4 separate regions of the Homo sapiens genome follow, and regions 2, 3 and 4 are each linked to region 1. Evidence: promoter capture Hi-C in 16 types of primary human blood cells and fetal thymus (Javierre and others, 2016). All regions are on one chromosome and are shown on one strand. The core of a region is centred on a gene start or on the middle of the fragment in contact, and the rest is flanking DNA. Distances in the headings are between cores, read along the strand shown.

Region 1 (2,928 bases), core at 137-2,636:
CACTCTCTCGTCCTATCACATCAGTTCACACACCTTCAAAGACCCTGTAGCCCAAAGATCAAAGCTGAACGCCCTAGGAAGGCCTTGTGCAGCCCAACTCCAGCTTGCTTCTCCCTCTCCTTCCTACCCAGCCTGCACCCAACTCCAAATCTAAGGCCCAGTATTAACGGGCTCTATTCAGCTCTTGGCACTCTGCCTGCAGTTTCCTGCCTGTGTGGTGAAGCACATGTCGCATCCTCTACTGAGAGCCCCTTTTGTTCCTGTGGTGGGCTTGAATTCCTGTACATCCTTTCCCCTCTGAAAGCTACTCGGACCCTCCAGACAAAGTTCCTCGCCACCTCTGCGATACTGTCTGTCTGTTACTCCACTATTACTTGTCACACTTGATTGAAATTAGGTGTGGACATGTCTTCCTGACATCTCTGTAACCCAGCAGCTATCATAATATAACGCCGCCTATATAGGAGGGAATTGGTGAAAATGTTGGTTGAATTGAACTGAATTGAACTGCATTTTGGAAATTTGATTTTCTATGTTGTATGGCTCTTTGCCTAGAATCCCTCCAATATGTGAAGTCCTCCCTCACTTCCATGTCATGCTGGCCCCCTCTCCCTGGATATCCTTGCCCAACCTCACTTCAGTTCACCTAGCGAATCCTTCAGCACTCAGATACCTCCTCCAGGCCATCTCTCCTAAGCTCAGACTGAGCATGTGCCCTTCCTGTCCCACTAGAAACACCTCATCTTCCATCTCTATGTCTGGCATCCAGCGAAATGTTCTGCCACAGGATAGGTGTTCAGGAAATAGTAGCTGGATGAATGGGCGTCTACTGGGTTAGGATGTTGGAAAACATTCACCTCCAAGTTTTTCTCAAGTGAACACTAAACTTTCTTTAAGAAAGAAAGAAAATAAGAACCATATCAAATAGGTAGATGTGTATTAAAATATAAAGTACAATATAAAACTGTAGATGTGTATCTGTATAGCTGTAAAAACATGCACTAAAGATACATGCCCAGTTTTCAGTTATACTGTAAGACTAGGAGCTTCTTTTTAAGGAAAATATTATATATTACCTTATGCTTAGAACAAATACTATACAGTCTAAAGCCAACAGTTACTTACTGCTTAGCTGCTTCCCACTGGGGTAAGTCCTGTAGCCCTCAGAGGGGGCAGGCGGCCATTGTCATGTCAGATCCCCAGTGATGCGTGCTTGCAGGCTTGCCCCAACAATGCTGGCAGTGACCTGTCTGTGCCCTTTCAGTCCTGACTCACAGGATGGAGATGGCCAAGAAGGGGACCCCTATAAAAGACTTTAAGGAAAGGAGGGGGCACTTGAAAGGTTTGAAAGAGTTCCTCTTCAATCTTTGACTTCACTGATAGGGCAGTGCTGTTGATGACTCACAAGTGATTGTTACCTTAGATTCTGTCAGCATTGGTTCCGGGAGCATGGTTCTAGGAAGTCATGTTCTGGTGGGGGCTTTGTGTGGGATGAATCACTTCTCTTGCTGCTTTCCAGATTCTTCGTCTTTGGCTTTTGATAGTTTGACTATGATGTGTCTTGGTCTTGAGGTTTATTCTACTTGGAGATTGTTGAGCTTCTTGGATATGCAGATTTGATGCCGTTTTTCATCAAATTTCAGAAGTTTTTGGCCATTATTTCTTCAAATATTCTTTCATCCATTTTCTCTGTCTCCTCTCCTTCTAGGGCTCATATTATGTGAATACTAGTAGCGTGAGTGTGTCCCCCAGGTCTCTAAAGTTACGTTCATTTTTCTTCATTCTTTTTTCTTTCTGTTGCTTAGATTAGATAATCTCAATTAACCTGTTTACAAGTTCATGGATTTTTTTCTTCTGTCAGTTCAAATATGCTGTTGAATCCCTCTTTAATTTTTCATTTTCAACTCCAGAATTTTTGTCATGTAGTAAAATTTTTAAATAGTCAAGTAAATTAACATATCCATCATCTCATATAGTTACCCTTTTTTGTGCACTGTAGCAAGAGCACCCACAATCTACTCTCTTAGCAAAAATCTTTAATACAGTGTTATTAACTACAGTCCTCATGTTGTACCTTAGATCTCTAAATTATTTATCCTATATATCTGCAACTTTGTACCCTTTGATTTCCCTCTTCCCGTCCACTCCCCACACGTAGCAGCTGCCATTTTATTCTTTGTCTGTGTATTTGACTTTTTTCTTACTTCTTCTTTTTAATTTTTTTAATATTCTACATATAAGTGAAGTTGTGCAGCATTTTTCTTTCTGTGTCTGGCTTATTTCACTTAGCATAATATTCTCCAGTTTCATCTATCTTGTGACAAACGGCAGGATTCTCTGTTTATGACTGAATAATATTCCACTTTATATACATGCTGCAATTTCTTTATCCATTCATCTGTCAGTGGACCCCTAGTCCATCCAGAATTTCTCCAGAAATTTTCACTGTGTCTCCAGAATTTGTTTGGTTATATATAGAAAAGGATATATGTGCTTTTCTATATACATATATATACACACACACACACACACACACTTCTATATATATATTTTTTCTATATATCTATATAAAAGTATATGTATACAAAGTGTGTGTGTGTGTATATATATATATACACACACACATATATATATGTATGCACACATACTTTTCTGTCTCTTTTTGGTAAGGCATAGTTTTTAATTCTTTCCTTTAATGCTTTTTTTTTTTTTTTTTGAGACATGTTTCTGTCACTCAGGCTGGAGTGCAATGGCATGGTATGATCTTGGCTAACTGCAGCCTCAATTTCCTGGACTCAAGTGATCATCCCACCTCAGCCTCTCAAGTAGCTGGGACTACAGGCGTGCGCCACCAGACCTAGCTAATTTTTTGTGTTTTTTTAGAGATAAGGTTTCTCCATGTTGCCCAGGCTGGCCTCAAACTTCTAG
Region 2 (2,928 bases), core at 245-2,744, 590 kb after region 1:
TAAGCCACTCTTGATTAAGCCACGATTCTTTAGGTCCCTATCATTCTCAGTTGTACTTGAGCTTACAAATTACTCCAACAAATAGGAGATATTGATATATTTAGAGGAACTGGGTTAATTGTTAAATCTTCACTTAGTTCTGTGAGGCTTTTAGAAATTGGGTTGCTTGACATCTGATCCTGCAATTATGTGTTTAAACAAATGTTCAGTTTTGTACATAGCAAGCACTCAATATATTCCTGAATGAATAAATACAAAAATACATGTGAGATACAAATACATATCTTCTAAAATAACTTAAGGTAATTTTAAGGTACTTATATGTGTGTAAGTTATGATATATGCCTATATATCATAAATCATAAATACCAATAAATATTATTTGATTTTAACAGAAAAAAGTTATGAGGACTCTGATATTTTTGGGAAAAGCAGTAGCAACATCTAATGATAAAGAGCAACTTTTCAAATAAAAAAATATCTGAGTAGTTGCCTCAGGGACCAGCTTTGTTTAATACAGGTTGAGTATTCCTAATCCCAAATCTGAAATCCAAAATGCTTCAAAATCTGAAACCTTTTGAGTGCTGACATGATGCTCAAAGGAATGCTCACTGAAGCATTTTGGATTGTGGATTTCCAATGCTCAAGTGATAAGTATAATGCAAATATTCCAAAATCCAAAAAAATCTGAAATCTTAATCACTTCTGATCCCAAGCATTTCAGAGAAGGGATAGTCAACCTGTATCAGTAGTGACTCTTGTGAAAATGTGGCAAGGATCCTAGGAGATACTATTAATAAACAGAAAAGGGCTGGGCACCTAGAAGTTCTAGGAAACAACATGGATATTGATCTGATGTATATTAAAAAGCTATTCACTTAAGGAGGAACAACAGAGAAAATCAAAGTGACAGCTGAGGACCCGGAGCTAGCGCCAACAAATCTAATGATAGAATCTGTAAAACTTGAAAGAATATCATGCCCAGGTGCAAGCTTTCTCTTTGTATAAGTTCTGCATCTTTCCCCGAATATTTATTTTTGGTGTAATTTGTGAATTACCCTGCCCATTGGCTGTAAAACACAGGAGTAGACAGAACTGATTTTTATATTAACAAAGGATCATCAGAGTTTCATTAAGTATCATTGATTTTAAGAAATTTCCAAAGAGAAATATCCCGTGACATAGTTCAATGACCAGGAGGAGCTGACAGAAACAATTAACAATAACTTAGGTTAAAAATCTCATTCTTACTTTATTTGAACAACAAGAGATAGAGTATTTTGTTTTTGAATTATCCAGATAATTTCTTCAATTCTCCAATGTAATTTTCTATTGCACTGAGGGTATAATGCTAGCTTGTGGGACTGAACTTTAGCTAATTACTGCATTCTAGCCTGAAGGATTCAAGTTAAAAAAAAATTAAGCCAACGCAATGTTACACGCCTGTAGTCCCAGCTACTCAGGAGGCTGAGGTGGAAGGATCGCTTAAGCTCAGGAGTTTGAGACCGGCCTGGGCAACATAGCAAGCCCCTGTCTCATTAAAAGAAAAAGTACATGCATGCATATCTATCTGCGAGCCTGACTGGAATCTTGGAGATTCAGTTTAATCTCAGTTTTCTCTAGCTCAGCACAATTGACATTTTCGGCTAGATAGCTCCTTGTTGGGAGAGCTGTCCTGTGAGGATGTTTAACCGCATCCCTGACCTCTATCCACTAGATACCAATAGCACCCTGGCTACCTCCCCGTTGTGACAACCAAAAATGCCTCAGGACATTGCCAAATGTCCCCTGGTGGAGGAGAGATGCCAAGTGCCCCCAGGTGAGAGTTGCTGCTAAACTTTTGTATTATGAAAATATAATGCCCTTGCATAAACCTGGGGGTCTAAGTTCTGCGGGAATGCCTCCCTATCATTTTTTGAATTAAATTTTTATTTTTATAAACTGATATGTAAACAGAGTTTTAAAAACAAAGTACACATTAGTTCTACAAAGCTTATAATGGGGGAAAAAAAGAGGTTTTACCCTTATCCAAGTGTCATTTCTTAGAGCAGTGCTGTCTATAGAACTCTGTGCAATGATGTAAATGTTCAATATCTGTGCTGTCTGATTTGGCAGCCACTAGCCTCCCAGTTCTCCCGAGAGGGGACTCCCTCAGCCTCCTGCCTGGGCAGGTGTTAGGAACCTGGCAGTCCCAGAAGTGTAACACAGATTGCACTTCTTCCTCCTGGGCCCAGTATGGCACTCCCACCTTGACTGTGCTTGGCGTCCTGCGGTCTAGCACTCCTACCTTGACTGTGCTTGGTGTCCTGTGGTCTAGGTCCCTGGTCCATCTTTCCAGAGAGTAAGCTTTGGCCTTCTGATGGGAAGGGGAAGAGGTAGCTGATCTGGTGGTTCAACTGGTGTGTGTGTGTGTGTGTGTGTGTGTGTATAAGGCTTTATTTACAAAAATAGGTGGCAGGCCAGATTTGGCCTGTGGTCTTTAATTTGTCGACTCCTGTCAATTGCTTTCTGTACAAACTTCTAAACCAATTTTTCCACTCTCTCATCTAGGCATAGACACTGTTTCCCATTTAGCCCGGCCATCTCCCTCCTGCTCCTTTCTTAGGGCCCAGGCCTGCAGCATCAAGTCTTGGCCATTCAGTGTCTCAGAATGATAAAGACAAGAGACAATCAGTGCGGGCAGGAGGGGAGTGTGGTTTGGGGACTCTTGATTTGGTAGGGAGCAGAGGGGAGGTGTGCCCCCAAAGCCAACCTACTGACCTCCTGTGCCCCCAACTTCCTTGTAAGAAGATAGGGGGAAAAGGATATTCTGGTTTTGCTGAACTGGGCCACCCAGCCTGCCTTGAAGAGGGAAGTGGCTGGTCTCACAGCTAGAGCTTCTCTGAACTTTAAGTGTGAGATACTTATCACTATTCTTGCTTTTTGGCC
Region 3 (2,928 bases), core at 282-2,781, 560 kb after region 1:
CTCCCTTACTGAATTCTTTTTGTTTATAATAGTTTTTCACTTGGCTCTCTTAGTTTTTTCATGTGAACCAATCTTATAATTCAAAGAATTATAATTGTATCTTCTTTTGTTCAATTTTTATTCTTCAGTTTCCTTCTACTGATTGCATTGGCTAGTACCCAAGAATGATGTTAAATAATTGAAGGGGGCGGAGGTAGACAGTCTTGACATTTTGTTTCTGACCCACATGGGAATGTTCCTAGTATTTCCTCATTAAGCTGGCCTAGGGCTGAGCAGAGACAGCGAGTCATTACATTATCTTAAAGAAGTATACATCCCTTCCCTTAAGAGTTTATATCAATAATAAACATTGACAAAATACACAGCCTTGCTGTGTATCTGATTAAGTGTTTAAGGCATCTGATTTGAAGTGAATCTTCACTCGCCAGTTTTGGCATGTCACATCTTCCAAGCACATGAAACTTACGATGCCTGTGCTTCCTATGGCCACAGATCCATAAGAATGTCTTTGAAGCATTACTCCCTGCCCCGTCGCTTGCCTCCCCACCCAGTGGGTAAGAAGCACACACATTGCTCAGGGAGAGGGACGTTATCACAGGGGAGCAGAGGAAAAAAAAATGGCTGAATGATGGCCAAGAAAAAGCCCCCAGCATCAATATTGGTGAAGATCATTTGGAAGATCATTCTGTGGAAATGATCTTCCATAGAAGACCTTTTAATTATTACTTTCCAGTAGTTTTCTTTTCTTTTAAATAAAGGCAGAATGCAATAACAGGTCAAATAATTGCACAATCGCTAATGAGCTAAGGTGACACTGGCTGAATCAAAGGGTGGTGGCTTGGAACTGCTGGCATCAGCAGTCCCACTATCATGTAATTGCTCAGTCTGGAAATGTCTTTGGCCTTCTTATTGTCCTCCTGTTACAGGAAAGGGGTCTTGATCCAGACCCCAAGAGAGGGTTCTTAGATCTCACGCAAGAAATAATTCAGGGCGGGTCCACAGAGTCAAGTGAAAGCAAGTTTTTTAAGAAAGTAAAAGAATAAAGAATGGCTCCTTCATAGGCAGAGCAGACCTGAGGCCTGCTGATTTGCCATTTTTATGGTTATTTCTTGGTGATATGTTAAACAAGGGGTGGATTATTCATGCCTCCCCTTTTTAGACCATATAGGGTAACTTCCGGATGTTGCCATGGCATTTGTAAACTGTCATGGTGCTGGTGGGGGTGTAGTAGTGAGGATGACCAGAGGTCACTCTTGTGCCCATCTTGGTCTTGGTGGGTTTTAGCTGGATTCTTTACTGCAACCTGTTTTATCAGCAAGGTATTTATGACCTGTATTTTGTGCCATCCTCCTGTCTCATCCTGTGACTTAGAATGCCTTAACCATCTGGGAATGCAGCCCAGTAGGTTTCAGCCTCATTTTACCCAGCTCCTCTTCAAGATGGAGTTGCTCTGGCTCACATGCCTCTGACACTCCCTGCCCCAACACCAGAAGAGCAGGCCCAGGGAAGGGCAAGGGAGGCCATGTCCCTCCATGCCCTCCACACAGTGCTCTTCTGGTGTTATTAGCTGGCAGGAGCTCATTGTGCCCATCTCGTCCTTCCCAACTCTGTGTTGAATGACATCACCTTTGGAAACCCACCATATGGGGAAGATTTAACCACAAGAATCAGCAAAATATACCAATTGGTGCTTTTTCCACTTGCCATCCCTAAGTTGAGATGGGTGGTGGGGAATCATGTGAGTCAAATAGGATTGAGATTTAAAAATGGACAAGACTAAGACTTAATCTCTCTCTCTCTCTCTCTTTTTTTTTTTTTTTTTTTTGAGATAGGGTCTCACTGCACTGCCCAGGCTGGAGTGCAGTTATACAATCACAGCTCCCTGCAGCCTCAACCTCCTGATCTCAAGTGATCCTCCTGTCTCAGCCTCCTGAGTAGCTGGGACTACAGGCACATACCACCACACCCAATTAATTCTTTTTATTTTTAGTATTCTTTTTGTAGAGACACAGGGTCTTGCTATGTTGCCCAGGCTGGTTGTGAATTCTTGGGCTCAAGTGGTCCTCCCACCTTGGCCTCCTAAATTGTTGAGATTACAGGAATGAGCCACTGTGCCCAGCCAGTTATTTACTATCTAAATAACAGAAAATTATTGAAAAGCTATTAAATGGGGCTGAAGTGTTCTTAAGGAAGCCTGGTACCCAGCAGAAAAGTTGAATGTGGCAAAGCATAATGGTATACTGGGAAAATAATCTGTTTCATGTCTATCTTTCCTAAATCAAACCTCCTCAATCAAACTGCATACCTCTATGAAACTAAAGAGGTTGAAAAGGGCCCTTTTTAATCAAGAGCTGCTGCTGCTGAACACACTATGAAGTATTGGGGGTCCCAAAGAATTGTTTCCCAACATGATCCTTGAGCCCTTTCTCACCTTTGGATTTGAGCCACTGTGACCTCTTGACCACAGAGCAGCTGCTGATGGGTTAAAGGCCTTGTCTGTCTCCTGCCTCCCCAGGCTCCTGAGGGTCCTCCAAATGGCCTGGCAGGGAGGGCAGATTAACACATGGTGGCTGACAGCTCTTAACACTCTGGAGGTGTAGGGGGACCCAAGGGCTTCTGCTTCGGCAGAGCTGGTGCTGGCTTTGGAAGCAGATTCTGTAGAAGTGGCAGGAGCCCCCTCCCTCTGGTACTTAGGCCATTTCTAAGGATGAGCAGCTGTGCAGAGAATTAGTTCTTTTGCAGAACAAAATCCTTCAAGGAGACTAATTGTTTTTATAATAGGACTTTCACAGGAAGGAGAAAAAAAAAAACCTCTCTCATAAAAGCAAATGGATTCCCTGCTCGGAATGCACATCTTCTGCCCAGCAGGTACTGAAATGCAGATGGTGCTTTTACATTCCCAACTGGGGATTTAATGAGGAAGGAAGG
Region 4 (2,928 bases), core at 253-2,752, 530 kb after region 1:
GGATTGCCCTTTCGGGTGATGAAGACTGTTGGTCCTGCTCACCTCTTAGACAAGGGTATGAGGGATGGAGGTCTTGGTGGACAAGTCAGGGGCTCTCCCAGGGTTCTTACCTTGGGCAAAATGTCCCACCTTCAGGGCCCACTGCATCACACCTTGGAGCAGCTGCACTCCAACAGAGCCCAAAGCTGATTGTTTATAAAAAATGGAAAATTTCAAGAACAGTGGACTTCCCGGAACCTCTTTGTTGGGATTGGCAATGCACATAGTAGTATAAATGGGTTTTTTATTCTGAAGAATTACACCTTTAGTCAAAGCTAGAGCCTGGATTTAGCATGCCAAGGAGTGGTATGCACACCTGTAGTTACAACTACTCAGGAGGCCTAGGCGGGAGGATCACCTGAGCCCAGGAGCTCGCTACTGCAGTGGGCTATGATTGTGCCACTGCACTCCAGTCTGCCACAGAACAAGACCCCATCTCTAAAAATAAAAAATAAAAAGGATTTTAAAAAGAATGTCAATGAGTGGGAACCATCAGACACAAAAACACCACCTAGTTTAAACAGGGTTCAGTTATTTATTTCCTTCAACAAGCTAAGGGGCACCTGTGAGCCAGCAAGAGGGGGCCGAGTGGGGAAGGCACGTGCCACCTGTCAGGGACTGGCCCATCTCCCCCTTGGCTTTGGCTGCCACTCACTCTCGGTTGATGCATCCAGTGGTCTCCACTGGCAGAGATCTTGGTCTCCATCTTCCCCAGGGCAGAGTCCCTTATGGGTGGCATGTGGTGAACTGCAGCCAGCTCAGGACACACCGGGAAGATGTAGGGGGTCATCAACACTCACACAGTCTGGCAGCGGGTCTCTGTGTTAACTGCAGAGCCTGGGAACTCTGGACTTGCCTCATAGTTTAATGGTTTGTGGTTGGATCTACCATATTGGTTGTACTCCAAAATTATCTAAGCCATTACATCATTGGCTGTATATGTGGTTTCCAAATTATATCACAACTTACCAATTTATGCCATAAATTTTCTGTACAGTCTAAAATATGTTTATGACTTTGGGGTAGAGCTGTTTATTACTTTTGAAGGAGGTAGCCTTATGTTTATTGGGAATGGGGTAAACATGTTTATAATTTTAACTACTTTTGAGAAAAACATGTTTATAAGCAAAGGAATGTTTTTGGTGGAAAAGCTTGTTTACCAGTTTTAAGCACAGCAAACAGGTTTTTATTTATGCCTGTTAAAATGCAGGATGAGATATCCTTTACAAAAATTCACTTTGCATATCACAGACTAGACAGTGAATTACCCTTGGTACCTATTGTTTGTTTCAATGTGTATTGAGATTAGTTTGTATTTTCCGATACACTGGGCTTGTCATCCTAGAAGCAGGGCAGAGCTGCTTTCATTTGGGAACTTTCCATTGAAAAAATGTTATAGAAAATACTCAGAATAATAATGGAGCTCTGACTGTACTGACTGTTGGTGGCTTAGGGTTTGAATTTTCCGGACATTCTACTCCATGAGGATAGGGGGAGATTTTTCTTGTTCATAGCTCTGTTCCCAATTCTGAGAATAGAGTCTGGCATATGGAAGGTGGTTAATACATAGTTATTGAACAAATGAATGAATCAATCAAAGAAAGGGACAGTAGCCTTTTTAACAGACACTTTGTCATCCCACTCTCCATGCCAAGGAGTTTACAGTATCACATAGATCTTAGTTTTTACTCAAAACCTTTTTCCCTATGAGATAAGAAAACAGCAGATATTGAACCATTATATAAATAAGAAAAAATAAAGACTTAGGAAGCTTTGCCCTGGGTGGATTCATGGTAAAGTGGGGACTCGTGGTTCCTTATCCCAAGCTCAAGGCGACTGGCCCAGCAGCCAGGTGGGGCAGCTGTGAGATGCTTGCCTGCCTGCCTGCCAGAGGCAGCCTCCTGTCCCACGCTAGCCTTGGGGCTCTGCGTCCTGCCAATCACACTGGGGAAGGTGCCTCCCTCCTGCATCTCTCAGGCCTGGGGTTTATCCAGATTCCACACAATGGGAGGGGCTTGTGGGGATTAGAGGACTAATGCCTGGTTTCTAAACTCAGGAGTTAACTGGGAGCCCAGGGTCATGGATAAATGCCAGAGAATGCTGGGCTTCTTTTTCAGAGAGACGCAGGTGTGAGCTGCAGTGCCACTAAGGCGGCAGGACCTAAGGCCCTGTGAGCAGGGGGTTTGCTCTGGGGCCCCGCAAGTCAAGTCAGTGAGCAGGATCCCCATCATGTCCCACAACTTAATCCCGACCCTGCCACATTGCTCCGTGCTGAATTGCCTGGGCCCAGTCATTTTAATGTCTTTGGGCCTCAGTTTCCTAATCTGTAAACCAGAAATAATAAGTGTGCCTCAAGTTTGTGTTTAAGTCAAATAATGAATATGAAAGTACTTTGTAAATCCTGAAGTTCTTTAAACATATACTATCATGCATCACTTTAACAACAAGGATAGGTTCTGAGAAATGCACTGTTAGGCAATTTCATCATTGTGCAAACTTCACAAAGTGCACTTACACAAACCTAGATGTTAGAGCCTACTCTACACCCAGGCTAGATGGTATAGCCTATTGCTCCTAGGCTACAAACCTGAATAGCATGCTACTATACCGAATGCTGTACACAATTGTAACCTAACGGGAAGTAGTTGTGTACCTCAACAAATCTAAACATAGAAAAGGCATAGTAAAAATACAGTATAAAAGACTTTAAAATGGCGCACCTGTATAGGGCACTTACCATGCATGGAGCTTGCAGGGCTGGAAGTTACTCTGGGTGAGTCAGTGAGTGAGTGGTGAATGAATGTGATGGCCTAAGACATTACTGTACACTACTGTAGACTTTATAAACACTGTACCCATAGGCTACACTACATTTAGAAAATATTTTTC

What was found. Contacts are between HindIII fragments. The CHiCAGO score rates a contact against its expected background, and 5 or more counts as called.
Region 2: a fragment that was not itself captured here is called in contact with the fragment with the promoter of CCDC70 in region 1 in 2 of 17 cell types (erythroblasts and total B cells); the score reaches 6.0 in erythroblasts.
Region 3: a contact is called between a fragment that was not itself captured here and the fragment with the promoter of CCDC70 in region 1, in 1 of 17 cell types (erythroblasts). The highest score is 6.1, in erythroblasts.
Region 4: a fragment that was not itself captured here is called in contact with the fragment with the promoter of CCDC70 in region 1 in 2 of 17 cell types (fetal thymus and naive CD8 T cells); the score reaches 6.1 in fetal thymus.

The regions. Positions count from the first base shown.
Region 1 is chr13:51,860,427-51,863,354 of GRCh38, reverse strand. It overlaps CCDC70 (coiled-coil domain containing 70), which reads right to left and starts at 1,386. Exons shown (of 2, transcript NM_031290.4): 1 at 1,126-1,386. It also overlaps a transcript of TMEM272 not described here. RefSeq lists an enhancer at 585-1,784. The HindIII fragment of the contact is 6,103 bases long and covers 1-2,928 here.
Region 2 is chr13:51,272,066-51,274,993 of GRCh38, reverse strand. All of the region lies in intron 3 of FAM124A (family with sequence similarity 124 member A), which reads right to left. Among named protein-coding and RNA genes, the nearest start is that of FAM124A, 51 kb to the right of the region's middle. The HindIII fragment of the contact is 1,000 bases long and covers 995-1,994 here.
Region 3 is chr13:51,303,082-51,306,009 of GRCh38, reverse strand. No RefSeq gene overlaps it. Among named protein-coding and RNA genes, the nearest start is that of SERPINE3, 35 kb to the left of the region's middle. RefSeq lists a silencer at 2,523-2,817. The HindIII fragment of the contact is 3,312 bases long and covers 1-2,928 here.
Region 4 is chr13:51,327,761-51,330,688 of GRCh38, reverse strand. No RefSeq gene overlaps it. Among named protein-coding and RNA genes, the nearest start is that of SERPINE3, 10 kb to the left of the region's middle. RefSeq lists an enhancer at 1,571-2,070. The HindIII fragment of the contact is 620 bases long and covers 1,193-1,812 here.